Linked DNA regions of Homo sapiens: regions 1, 2 and 4 are each linked to region 3. Evidence: promoter capture Hi-C in human tissues and cell types (Jung and others, 2019). All regions are on one chromosome and are shown on one strand. The core of a region is centred on a gene start or on the middle of the fragment in contact, and the rest is flanking DNA. Distances in the headings are between cores, read along the strand shown. Region 1 has its middle 8.3 kb from the start of MSANTD5. Region 2 has its middle 34 kb from the start of ZNF354A. Region 3 holds the start of ZNF879 (zinc finger protein 879). Region 4 overlaps CLK4 (CDC like kinase 4).

Region 1 (3,452 bases), core at 36-2,535, 330 kb after region 3:
TCGTGATCCACCTGCCTCGGCCTCCCAAAGTGCTGGGATTACAGGCTTGAGCCACTGTGCCCGGCTGACTTTTTCCTATATTTTTCTTAAAGTTTTATAGTTTTACATTTTGCATTTAAGTCCCTGGTACATTTGAGTTAAATTGTGATTAAGGTTTGTGAAGTTTAGGTTAAGGTTCATTTTGTGTGTATGTGCCTGTGAATGTCCAGTTGCTCTTCTCTGAAGAGGCTATCTTTTCTGCGTTGAATTTCTTTTGCATTTTTGTGACAAATTAGGTGGGCATATTTGTGTGGTTCTTGTCATGGGTTCTCTACCTTGTTCCATTGGTCTGCACTCTGCTAATATCACACACCCTTGTTTACTATAGCTGTATAAGTTATTAAATCATATAAATTAATTCTTCCTACTTTGTTCTTTGATTGATTTTTCAAACATTGAACCAGCCTCATATCTCTGGAGTACATCAATTGTCCATCATATAATTTTTTCATCTATTATTGATGTATTAGTAATGTTTTATTAATGATTTCTGCATCAGTATTCAAGAAAGATGCTGTTTTACAGTTTTGTTGTACTGTCTTTTTCTGGTTTTGGTATCAGGATAATACTAGCTTCATAAAGTCCATTTGCAAGTGAAATAAGCTAGCCACAGGAAGATAAATACTGCATGCTCTCACTTATATGTGGAATCTAAAATAGTCAGACTCATAGAAGAGAGTAGAATGGTGGTTTCCAGGGCTGGAGGGAGGGAGAAGTGGGGGGATGGGGGGATGCTGGTCATGAGTGTAAATTTCCGGTTACTCAAGATGAGTAAGTTCTGGAGATGGAATGTACAGCATGGTGACTATAGTTAACACTATTGTATTTTATACCTGAAATTTGTTTAGAGGGTAGATCTTAAGTGTTCTCATCTTACACACACACACAAAGGTTAACTATGTGAGGCGATAAATATGTTAACTGACTTGACTATGGTGCTCATTGCACAATATATACATATATAAAAAATCAAGTTTTAAAATCGATACCTTTTTTTGAGACGCAGTCTCGCTCTGTCACCCAGGCTGGAGTGCAGTGGCGCGATCTCGGCTCACTGCAAGCTCTGCCTCCTGGGTTCACACTGTGACATGGGGCTGGAGAGTTGATCTAAACTGAGGGAGGACAGTGAAGGTGTCCCTGGCCAGCTGAAGGCAAACTGCTTCAGGTGGGCCTTCTGGACAGGGATGGAGAAAAAGGTGTGTGTCAGATCAATAGTTACATACCATGTACCAGGATATGTGTTAATTTGCTCAAGCAATGAAACAGCATCTGGTACAGCAACTGCAATTAGAGTTATCACTTGGTTAAGCTTCTGGGAATCCACCATCATTCTCCAGGATTCATCTGTCTTCTGCACAGGCCAGGAGAGTTGGACAAGGATGTGGGGTAGGAATCACCACCCCTCCATACTTCAAGTCTTTGATGATGGCACTCATCTATATCATTCCTCCAGGAAGGCAGTATTGGTGTGTTTTTTGTTTTAGTATTTTTCTAGGTAGAGATGGCTGTAACGCCTTCCATTTGTCCTTTCCCATCACAATTGCCCTCACTTTATAGCTCAGGGAACCCGTGTGGAAACTCTGCTAGCTGCTGAACACGTCTGTTCCAACTACACATCTGGACCCGGGAAATGACCAGAGAATGGGTTCCGGGACCCGCTGGGCCCACGGTGAGTTGGACCTGAGTTAAAGCTCCTGGTACCAAGATATGGAAAAACCTCTTTGACTGTCTTATTTCACTGGAAAACAGTATGGAGTTTACTCAAAAAAATTAAAAATAGAACTACCACATAATTCAACAGTGCCACTTCTGGGTATGTATCCAGGATCTGGAAGAGAGATCTGCATCTCACGTTCATTGCAGCACTATTCACAGTAGCAAAGATACGGAAACAATCTAAGTGTCCACTGACAGGTGAATGGATAAAAAGAAAACTTGACACACATACACACACAGCGGAATATTATTCAGCCACTTTAAAAAAGAAGTCCTGCCTATCAACAACATAAATGAACCTAGAGGGCACTATACTCAGTGAAGTGTGACAGAGACAGACAAATACTGTATGGTATCACTTATATATGGAATCTAAAAAGAAGAAACATTTCCAACTCATAGAAGCAGAGAGCAGAGCAACCTGGTGGTTGCCGGGAAGGGAGGTGGGGGAGGAAATGGAGAGATCTTGATCAAAGTGTACAAACTTTCAGTTATAAGATGAAGGAATTCTAAAGATCTAATGTACAGCACGGTGAGCATAGTTAATAATACTATATTTTATACTGAAGCTTGCTAAGAGAGTAGATCTGAAGTGTTCTCACCGAAAAAGGGAGGGGGTAAGTGTGGGAAGTATTGGGTAAGTGCTGTGGTTTGGATATTTGCCTCCAAATCTCATAATGTGAAATGCAATCCCCAGTGTTGAAGGTAAGGGCTAGTAGGTGTTTGGGTCATGGGCGTGGATCCCTCATTAATGGCTTGGTGCTGTCCTTGAGGTCATGAGTGAGTTCTTACTCTATTAGTTACCAAGAGATCTGATTGTTTAAAAGGGCCTGGCATCTCTCTCTTGCCTCCTCTCTTGCCATGTGACATGCCTGCTCCCTTTTTGCCTTCCACCAACAGTAAAGCCTTCCTGAGGCCTCCCCGGACTCCCAGCAGTTACTGGTGCCGTGTTAGTGCAGGCTGCAGAACTGTGGGCCAAATAACCTGTTTTCTGTATAAATTACCCATCCTCAGGTATTCCTTTACAGCCATGCGAAACAGACTAATGCAGCATGCTAATTAACTTTATCATGGTAATAACTTTATTTTATTATTTATTTACTTAGAGTCTCATTTTGTCACCCACGCTGGAGTGCAGTGGCACCATCTCAGCTAACTGCAACTTCTGCCTCCCAGGTTCAAGCAATTCTCCCATCTCAGCTTCCTGAGTAGTAGCTGGGATTAAAGGCACATGCCACCACACCTGGCTAATTTTTTGTATTTTTTTGGAGAGATGGGGTTTCGCTGTGTTGCCCAGGCTGATCTCAAACTCCTGGCCTCAAGTAATCCTCCCGCTGTGGCCTCCCAAAGTGCCGGGATTACAGGTGTGAGCCACCAGGGCTGGCCAGGGTAATCATTTTAAAGTGTTAACATATGTGAAATCATCAGTTGTACACCTTAAATAGATACAATTTTCTGTCAATTATGCCTCAATAAATTGAAGAAAATAATTTTTTTCTGGATATATTTTCTGAAAACTAAAGTGATTTAAGTTACATAAACAGAAAATAGTATCAAACTGAAAATAGACCCAAATTTTAACAGTTTTTATTTTACTAGAAATAATACTCTTTAGTTTTTCATTTTGTTTTTATATGATCATATATTTCTTTCTTTTCTTTTTTTTTGAGACAAAGTCTCGCTCTGTCACCCAGGCT
Region 2 (3,258 bases), core at 294-2,793, 260 kb after region 3:
CGCTGGGGTGTTATTAACCACTCTGTCAAGGTGACAATGTCATTTTTAATGTTCCATCTTCAGACTTGAGGCTTATTCTTAGGTTGAGAGTTAGCCAACCTTGACAGAGATAGAACCCCTAAAAGTTTAAGACGTGGTTCTTGACCCTGGCTGCTGGGGAGCTTGCAACAATACCGGTTTCCATGAGGGTACCTTCTGGGATGCAGGAAATGTTAGATGTCTTTATCCACGTGGTGGTTACTTGAGTTCATATATGTGTAGCAAAAACTTGGGCTTTGGTGAGGATATGGAGAAACTGAACCCTGGTGCCTTACTGGTGGGAATGTAAATTGGGGCAGCTGCTGTGGAAACACACTGGTGGCTCCTCAAAAAGTTAAACATGTAATTACCCTGTGAGCCAGGAATTGCACTCCTAGGTATATACCCAAAAGAACTGAAAGCAAGGACAGAAGCAGATGCTTGTAAGCTAATGTTTGTAGCAGCGTTATTCACAACCACCAAAAGGTGGAAACAACACAAGCATTTGCTGATGAATGGTTACTGTTCTGTCCCTACAATAGAATGTTATTCAGCCACGAAAAGGAATGAAGTTCTGACACACACTGCAATGTGTATGAACCTTGAACCCATTATCGTGACAGACACTGGTCACAAAATGACAAATACTGTATGATTCCACTTACATGAAATACCCAGAATAGTCACATTCACAGGGACAGAAAGTAGACCAGAGCTTATTCAGGGAAGGGGAGAGAGAAGGAATGGGGAGTGAATATTTAATGGGTACATAGTTTTAGTTTGGAATGATGAAAAGTTTCTAGAAATGGATGGTGGTGACTTTTGCATAACACTGTGAATGTACTTAATGCCACTGAACTGTACACTTAAAAATGGGTGGAGTGGCAAGTTTTACGTTATGTATATTTTACCATAATAAAGATATTTGAGATGTACAGTTAAAATTTTTGCTGTGGACTATAAATGTATGTTTTACCTGAATTGTAAAATCTGATTTCTAGGCCCTACTCCTAAGGATTCTGATTTTTTTTTTTTTTTTTTTTTTTAAGACAGAGTCTGACTCTGTCACTCAGGCTGGAGTGCAGCGGCATAATACCGGCTCACTGCAACCTCTGCCTCCCAGGTTCAAGAGATTCTCGTGCCTCAGCCTCCCGAGTAGCTGGGATTGCAGGTGTGCACCACTTGTCCAGCTAATTTTTGTATTTTTAGTAGAGATGGGGTTTCACCGTGTTGCCCAGGCTTGTCTCGAACTCCTGACTTCAGGTGATGATTTTAATAGTTGGGAGAAAACTCTGGGCATCATTATCTTTAAAAACTTTAAAAACTTACCATGAGGAATTTATAGTTGAGGAAAAGAGGCAAAACTTAGGCATGAAAACCCCTCAAGAATAAGAATTGTGGAATCAAGGCTGGGCCATGTGCTGTATGAAGGCCAATGAGTTGTGAGTGGAAGGGACGTATCATTTTTACGTCACAGGTCTTAATTGCTGATGTAAGAGTCTCCAAAGCTCTCTTTTCCCTTTGGTCATGTTTGACATGGGGGCTGCTCTGTCCCCCTGGTCCTGAGTGATACAGGTTCTGACACTGGGCCTGGAATGATGAGTGGGATTGAAGGAGTATAGGAATTGAATGATCCTATGTAACATAAGTGGGGCAACAGTGTCACGGAAACTCATACATGGGGAAAGCTTTGTGAGTTTCTTGGGCTTTTCCTCATGGTCACAAGATGGCTGCTGCAGCTCCGGCACCACATCCTCAAATACTTAAAGCAATGAGGCAGCCAGTGCAGTGAGAAGTCTCTTTGAAGCCCGTTCTTATTTGACCAGGGGGAAGTTTCTCCCCAGAAAGATTGTCAGCAGCCTTCTCCTCCGACTCATTGGCTAAGAACTGTATCTCATGGCCACCGCTAGCTCTAGAGGAAACTGGGAAGCAAGTATCTGTATTCCTTTCCTTTACTTTCTGTGTTTTGATATAATTTCAAATTAAAGTTTCAAAAATAGCACTAACAATTCTAGATAATCTTCACTCAAACTGCCCAAATGTTGGCATTATGTGACATTTGCTTAATCCTTTTCTCTCTCCTTACGTACACACACATACACACGTACTTATGTGTATTTTTTTTCTAAATGGTTTGAGTCAACTGCACACACAATGTGCCTTTGTCCCTAAATACTCTATTGTGAATTCCTGAAAACAAGGATATTCTCACCAGGCACAGTGCCTCATGCCTGTAATCCCAGCACTTTGGGAGACTGAGGCAGGCAGATCATGAAGTCAGGAGTTCGAGACCAGCTTGACCAACATGTGAAGCCCCGTCTCCACTAAAAATACAAAATTAGCCGGGCATGGTGGCACATGCCTGTAATCCCAGCTTCTCAGGAGGCTGAGACAGGAGAATTGCTTGAACCCGGGAGGCAGAGGTAGCAGTTAGCTGAGATCGCGCCACTGCACTCCAGCCTGGGCGGCAGAGCAGCAAGACTTCGTCTCAAAAAAAAAAAAAAAATTCTTTTTTAGCTATACTTTCTAAGAATCTCTTGGTGTCAGGCTCCCAGAGAACCCCACAGAATATAGACAGTAATGGATGGCATTGTCTACCCTCAGTGAACTTCTTGCCCAACAGGAGGGAAGGAACAAGTATTTCTTGTTCATGTACTACATGTCAAGCCTCGAGTTAGCCACTCACATTCACTCTCTCCTTCAAATTAGCATATCAGCTCTGGGAGGCCAGTGCTGTTACCTGGATAATGATTTAGGGGGCTTTGTTCCTTTCAAACCAGAGGAACCATTCATAGCTTTCTCCAATTCCTGGGTCGGCCTCTCCTCACCTCACTTGAGTATGGTTGTTTTAAAAAAGAATCTGAAATATTTTTTATCAGGTGTTTCAAGGAGCTAATTATGAACTTCACTGTAATTGTTCATTAGTTATATTTTGTTCAGTTACCTTAGCAATTTGCCAAATGGAGCACAAAGCTGGCCTTGCTGCTTTCCCTGGGGCTGCTGGTTTCTTGCCTTTGCTGCCGTCTGTGTCTCTGCTTTTTTTCCTTCTCCTTGAAGTGAATTCTATGGGCCTGAACCCAGTGCTCCACTCCCTTTGTTGTGAGGTGAGTTCCCAGGCAGTGTTCTAGCAGGCTTCTCATCTGTTTCAGTCGCAGAGACCTTGGGACAGTTAGTCTCTGCCAAACCTCCTACAGGCCAGGGCTTGCTGACCACAGGCACGTGCTGCGGTCCGTGATGGCG
Region 3 (3,553 bases), core at 611-3,110:
AATACAGGGCCTCTCTTTTTCAAATTCCCCGTGTTAGGAAGGAATTATTTAACTCCTCCGTGTCTTTGTCCTCCACAGGGCAAAAACACCTGGATCTTTCACAAAGCTCTGGTAGTGGCAGTGGCCTGGCATTGGAGCCCCATTAAATTCTTTGTCAAAAAGCATGAGACTGGGGGCCGGGCGCGGTGGCTCACGCCCATAGTCCCAACACTTTAGGAGGCTGAGGCGGGCAGATTGCTTGAGGTCAGGAGTTCAAGACCAGCCTTGCCAACTTGTTGAAGCCTGGTCTCTACTAAAAATACAAAAATTAGCTGGGTGTGGTGGCACACATGCCTGTAGTCCCAGCTACCAGGGAGGTTGAGGCTGCAGTGAGCCATGTCCGTGCCACTGCACTCCAGCCTGGGTAACAGAGTGAGACCCTGTCTCAAAAAAGGGAAAGAAAAAAAAAAAAAAGCATGAGACAGGCTCTGAGGCAAGGGAAACACCTTCCTTCCAGAGTTTCTCAGCTACCAAGCCCTCTGGTCCTTCCCTGAGCTTCACTGGGTAGAGAAGCTCAACAACAGATGAAGAAGTTTACCACGTCTAGACCCTGAAGGCAGTTCAAGCAAAAAGAAGCCTTCACTCACCTGTACATGGGCTGGCAGCAACCTCCTTGCCATTTCTCCCTCCCTGCTGCCTCTCTTGGAGAAGGCACCTGGAATGGAGAAAAAAGCTGTGAGGTCTTTTCATCCAGCCTGCATGCCCACCCTCATTAGGCCAGACCAGGTTAGAAGCCATAAGCTGAGCACCTGCAGAGAAGGAGCCTGGAACTGCCCAGGCCAGAGGGGCCCTAAGTCCGGCCACTTAAACCAGTGTGGGAAGCAGGTTCAGAGTCACCGGGCCTGCTACCTTTCTGCCAGTGCTTTACGATAAAGACGAAAGGAGCGAAGGGATGAAGACCATCTGCCGTGCCTTAACAGGGTCAAGGGCAGAATCAGGCAAGGCTCATTCAGATAAAGTAATAGGAAATGACACAATATTCCACACATCTGCACTTGGATGTTGTTCAATACGAAAAACAGCAGTTGAAGAACTGATGCTCTTTTTTAGGAACAGCCAACCAAAAATTAGTCCTCTTTTCTTCCTCTTGTAAGATTTACTTCCTTTATCAAAAACAGTTATCAAAGCTGCTTAAAGGTAGCGTTACCCATTCTCCCTGGCCCCAAAAAAACAAGGGCGCAAGAAAACAGCATCACTAGCTAGAAATTGATTTAAAATTTAGAGAAATGGGAAGAAACGTAGCAAGTGGACATGGTTACGGTAAATAAAAAAAGAAATAGTTAAATCACTCTAGGACTGGCTGTAGGAAAACACTGCCAAACGTGCAAGACTGCCAAAAACGAGTAAATCTAAAGTTTAAACTCCGGGAAACGGAGTAGGGGGAGGCTTAAACCCACAAACACTAAGAGCGAAAAACCGCCCGGAGGGCTCCGGACCCTGAACCGAGGCGGCATTTTGCAGTTTCTGTTCTGGAGCCGTTTCCCCCGGAGTCCGGCCCAGGCTGCGGCCCAGGAGTCCAGCGGCGTCGAAGCGCCCTCCCGGCCTCCGCCAGGCCCTTCCCAGGCCACGCCCCCTCCGGGGCCGGGTTCACCTGCCGAGGCCGCCCCGGCTCGGACGCCCGGAGCCGGGGACTCGGCAGACACGCGCAGAGGCCAGCCCTCGTCCTGGTCCCGCCGCGGCAGCCGCACGCCCCGGGCCCGCCCTCACCGGCAGCCTGTACCTGGGCCCGCCTCGGCGGGGGGCGCGCAGCTCCACACCGCACAAGAGGCGAGCGGAACACCTAATTCAGAGACGTTTCCCGTCGCTGCCGGGCGCAACTGCGCCTGCGCGCCGGAGAGCCGACGGGTTTCCCTGGCTGAACCGCAGCGTTTGTCCCTCCGGACTTCATTTCCCAGACGTCGCTGCGGCACCACCACTTACGGTGTCCGAGAGAGAACCACAGCGCCGAGAGCGGAGAACGCGGTCGGGCTGTGGAGTTCGAGAAGGCTGAAGCCGAGTCCCTCAGCTTGGGCTCCAACTACTCTCCCTCCGCTAAACCACCCATTGTATTCGTAATTAGAATGACAAAAATAGTAAGACGGAAAAGTGAGTATGAATTTTTAAATCTGGAAGACTAGCCGCTGCTGATTATTCGCAGGTGGTGACAGAACTATTACAGTCCATTCTGCGATTTTAATTAAAAATGAATTATGTCTAAATTTTATAATCTCGGCCGGGCGCGGTGGCTTATGCCTGTAATCGCAGCACTTTGGGAGGCCGAGGTGGGCGGATCACAAGGTCAGGAGACCGAGACCATCTTGGCCAACATGGTGCAACCCTGTCTCTACGAAAACACGAAAAATTAGTCGGGCGTGGTGGCACATGCCTGTAATCCCAGCTATTCGGGAGGCTGAGGCAGGAGAATCGCTTGAACCTGGGAGGCGAAGGTTGCGGTGAGCTCAGATCGCGCCATTGCACTCCAGCCTGGGTGACAGAGCAAGACTCTGTCTCAAATAAATAAATAAATAAATAAATAAATTTTTGTAATCTTTACATATTTACTGGCACTCAGAGTAAAACAAAAGCATAAGCCTAGTATTTCCCTCTTCATGGCACTCACTTCTTTTGAAGTGACTTCTTTAAAACGTAAAATAAAGCCCAACTCCCAGCGCTATCATCACAACTGCATCCTCGGTGACCGGCACTGTACACGCCAAATACTATGTGCTCAGAAAGTGTTGATTTTTAAAATATCAAACATTAGCGTTTACAGAGACAAACCTAAACACAAAGGGTACTTGAAGATAGAAAATGCAGAGAGGGACTAAGAGATATCAGGTAGATAATATGAAAAAGAAATCTTGGATCACGATGTTACAACAATACAAAGATTATTGCAATGTAAAAATAATTAAATCGAACAAAATGGATGTTTTATATTGTTAAAAGATAATAATGCACATCACTAATCATTAGGGGAATGCAGATCAAAGCAGATCAAACATCCACTGCGATTTCACACTCATTAGGTTGGCTATTATAAAATTTGGAAAAAAAAGAAAACCAGAAAACAATCCTTGTGCCTTAATGGTGGGAATGTAAAATGGTAGCGCTGCGCTGGAAAACGGTATGGCAGTTCCTCAAAAAAAAATTAAATGTAGAATTAACACATGGGCAATTCCATTTCTGGACCATATGTTATTTCTATATTTAATTATTATTTTAAAATAATAATAATAAAGATATGACAGTTATAGACCATTATTGACAAAACAACATAGCATTGAGATTTACAAAGTAAAAGGTGCCAGACTGAGTACCCATGATTACCTCCCTTTTTCTCTTCATATTCTTCAAAGTAACCCCAAACACATATAATTTTCAAAGGAGCAAATCTAATGCAACTCTAGAAAAATACCATCAGAACACCAGAAATTGAGGAAACATTTGGAAGACATGCAGGAGACAAGTGCTCTGATACCCAAAATCTAATAAAAAGATTCAGAAGAAAGCAGAGAAAATGGGGAGGGGGAAT
Region 4 (3,250 bases), core at 89-2,588, 400 kb after region 3:
ACCTTACCACGTAGAACGTGGGTCGGGTGATCTTTGTGCCTCCAGATAAAATATTTTTGAACATTGCAGGGTGAGTGGGGGAGGTCAGAGGCTGGGACTAACAGCTGAATTACATTTGAAGTAGTGAACTTGAGAAGAATTTTGGACTCTCACAACGGAGCTCGTTCTTATTTTAATGTTTGCATATTAACTGATAATTTGAGAGTTCTGTTTTGCTGGAGGTTAGCTGGTTGTAAGCAGACTTACAGTAGAAGAGGAAAAAACAAAACTGAAGAAGATACATAAGTCTTGAAAAAAACTTCATAGTAATGGAGGGTCATAATAATAACGCTCGGTCATCAGATGTGATTTTGCTTGCTATGATTTAAAAATGCTTAACCAAGCTGAGTTCCTGATGTGGTTAAAATACAACTTTGGTATTTGACGGAACGCTTCAGAAGAACTGCACTTGAAATACACATTTTCTTTTTTTTTTTTTTTTTTTTTTTGAGACAGGGTCTCACTGTCGCCCATACTGGTATGCAATGGCGTGATCATGGCTCACTGCAGCCTTGACTTCCTTGGGCTCCAGTGATTGTCCCAGTAGGTGGGACTACAGGCTCGAGTCACCATGTGCGGCTAATTTTTTGTATTTTTTGTAAAGGCAGGGTTTCGCCGTGTTGCCCAGGCCAGTCTCGAATTCCTGGGCTCAAGGGATGAGGCGCCACTGCGTCCAGCCATAAATTTTTCTTGATAGCTCTAATGAAGAAAGTTTGTGTTTTGGCCTTTTGCCTCAAGTAAATGTGTGCTGTTATTCATGTCACGTTCCCATATGGAAGTGACTCCATTTGTATCAAACCGGAATGCTCACTTCCATTGAGACGCTAACAAGAGTTTTAGAATTGCTGTTTGGCCTGATCAGTGCCTTCTCTTCCTCTGTAAAGTGAGCTGAGAGCCACCTTAGAAGGATGCTTGATGGGTATAGAATTAGAATCAGCAAGAGAGTGAATTAAAATATCTGACTATCTGGTGGCAATCAGACTCTGATGGCGTGACACATACTTTCTTGTGGAATACCTCCCAGAAGAATTGAAGCTGCCTCACTCCAAAACCTTTAATCCATTTAAAATCATTTAAATTTCTGCTTGCATTTGTTTGCTTATTAGTCATTTGGGCAAGCTGAATGAGGTTAACTGAGTGGGTTTTACTCCATTTTAGCTTTTTTCAGCTCCTTGCTGAATTGTGAAATTCTTCTCTTTTTACCATTTAAACTCACCCTGTTTAGGAGAATTTGGACCTGACTGTTAAAACTTAACTGTTTTGGAAAATAATTAAGATGGGGAGAGACAGATAGGGGTTATATTGTTTGAGCGCAGATGCTGAGCCTGGAAGGAACCCAGGTTATGCACTGGAGTTTGTAAATAAAGTCAGCTGTCACCGTTATCGTTTGCTTTCACTGTGACCATGCTTCAGTGTGCATCCTTGTAGGTTGAGTTCTTTTTCAGAGTTACTCCAGATTTACTACAAATAGATTTTAAGGTTAAGAATAACTGCTGGATAAGAAAATGAACTTGTTGGATAGAGAAAATGAGTTCATAAAATCACATAAACATTTAAAAAAATTTTTTTTGTAGAGACAGTTTCACTATGTGTAGCGCAGGCTGGTCTCAGACTCCTGGGCTTGGCCTCCCAAAATTCTGGGATTACAGGCATGAGCCACCGTACCCGGCCTAAAATCACCTTTTTATATCTCTTCAGTTTCTCTGTTGAATATTGTGTTCTATCCACACAGAACTAATATTCTCAAAGCTTAGAGTCATTCTGAGATTTAGAGAAAAGAACTATGGAGAATTTGAGAAAAAGAAGCTTCATCATTGAATAGCTCTTTACCATTAAAACAAAGTCACCTCCCATATTTAGTATCCCTAAGTGTTTTTGTCTTGCACTTCAGTTATTTGTATTACAGTACTTTGCCAAAGCTGCATGACACTGATATTATTTCTCCTTAAATCAGCTCACATTTTAATGTTAACATTTTTAAAAGAAAATATGTCAATAACTTAATTGGAAAATCACTAATAAGTAGAAAGTAACAAAATAAGATAAATAAAAACGTTACTAATTTTTAGCTAAATACTCTTGTCTGCTGGAAACACTAGGCCTGAACCTTTTTATTTGCCCCCCCCGGCTTTTTTTTAATTTTTAAAAAGGCAGTTAGCAAGTGTTAGTTGAAGACAAGCACCAAGCTGAGAATTTGTCCTGGCTGTAATCAGAATTCAAAAAAAAAAAATGTCTTAAGGTATCAGTATTACCCACAATTTAATACTAGATCTCTATGCCTCTTAGCAGTCATCTGACATACCAGTGCCTTGGGAAGCATTACCACCTAAAAAGATTTTGGAGCCTGTAAGACCCTGTGTGTTGGGTTTTGATAACTTAAATAATATTAATATATAATAATTTACCTATCACACATCTGTAACCTCCACAATTCCCTTTTCATTTCTATCAACAGATGCGGCATTCCAAAAGAACTCACTGTCCTGATTGGGATAGCAGAGAAAGCTGGGGACATGAAAGCTATCGTGGAAGTCACAAGCGGAAGAGGAGATCTCATAGTAGCACACAAGAGAACAGGCATTGTAAACCACATCACCAGTTTAAAGAATCTGATTGGTAAATTAACTCTTGAACTACTAGCATTTTAGCTCTAATAGTTTTAAATGATTTGTCATTTGCTTATATAGCTTTCATCTGTCAAATTGTTTTATAATTCAGTCAACAAATATTCGTTTAGAAAATATTTGAGTACTTATTTTAGATAGGCGCTGAGGCTACAGCTGTAAATAAAACAAAGTTCTTATCCTTATGTATGTCTGTCTGCCTGGGAGTGGTAGGAGACAGTTGATCAGTAAGTGAATGTGAAATGTATTAAATAACATGGTGAGTCCCAACTGCCAGTAACGTGATTAGGGAGATGACACACAAAAAGTTAAGTAATAGTGATAGAATGCCCAATGAGTACCTTTAACTTGTATGTAGGAGGGAGATGGGTATGTTGTAGTGCTCATTGTTTCAGAAATAAGGTAGGGTTTTATAGGGGAGGAGTTATTCCAACAGAGAAAAGCAGCATGTATTATTAGTCACTTATACCATGTCGTACAGGTTATATTTGTAGATGAGGCCAAGGGATATGTTTGGGATTTTTAGAAGCTGGCTTTATTTAAGAACTATTCTTTTGCATAGGTAGTAGCTAGTAATTTGGGAAATG

The links. The method cuts DNA at HindIII sites, captures the fragments that hold promoters and counts their contacts. A contact is called where the count stands out against the background at its distance.
Region 1: a contact is called between a fragment that was not itself captured here and the fragment with the promoter of ZNF879 in region 3, in 2 of the 25 tissues and cell types used here (dorsolateral prefrontal cortex and mesenchymal stem cells).
Region 2: a fragment that was not itself captured here is called in contact with the fragment with the promoter of ZNF879 in region 3 in 1 of the 25 tissues and cell types used here (thymus).
Region 4: a contact is called between a fragment that was not itself captured here and the fragment with the promoter of ZNF879 in region 3, in 1 of the 25 tissues and cell types used here (hippocampus).

The regions. Positions count from the first base shown.
Region 1 is chr5:178,687,749-178,691,200 of GRCh38, reverse strand. No RefSeq gene overlaps it. Among named protein-coding and RNA genes, the nearest start is that of MSANTD5, 8.3 kb to the left of the region's middle. The HindIII fragment of the contact is 5,435 bases long and covers 1-3,452 here.
Region 2 is chr5:178,762,565-178,765,822 of GRCh38, reverse strand. It overlaps the pseudogene AACSP1. Among named protein-coding and RNA genes, the nearest start is that of ZNF354A, 34 kb to the right of the region's middle. The HindIII fragment of the contact is 4,639 bases long and covers 1-3,258 here.
Region 3 is chr5:179,022,111-179,025,663 of GRCh38, reverse strand. It overlaps ZNF879 (zinc finger protein 879), which reads right to left and starts at 1,860. Exons shown (of 5, transcript NM_001136116.3): 1 at 1,760-1,860; 2 at 627-694. The coding sequence starts at 659. RefSeq lists an enhancer at 1,731-2,232. The HindIII fragment of the contact is 17,237 bases long and covers 1-3,553 here.
Region 4 is chr5:178,622,661-178,625,910 of GRCh38, reverse strand. It overlaps CLK4 (CDC like kinase 4), which reads left to right. Exons shown (of 13, transcript NM_020666.3): 2 at 2,495-2,655. The coding sequence starts at 2,495. Among named protein-coding and RNA genes, the nearest start is that of CLK4, 2.8 kb to the left of the region's middle. The HindIII fragment of the contact is 5,209 bases long and covers 1-3,250 here.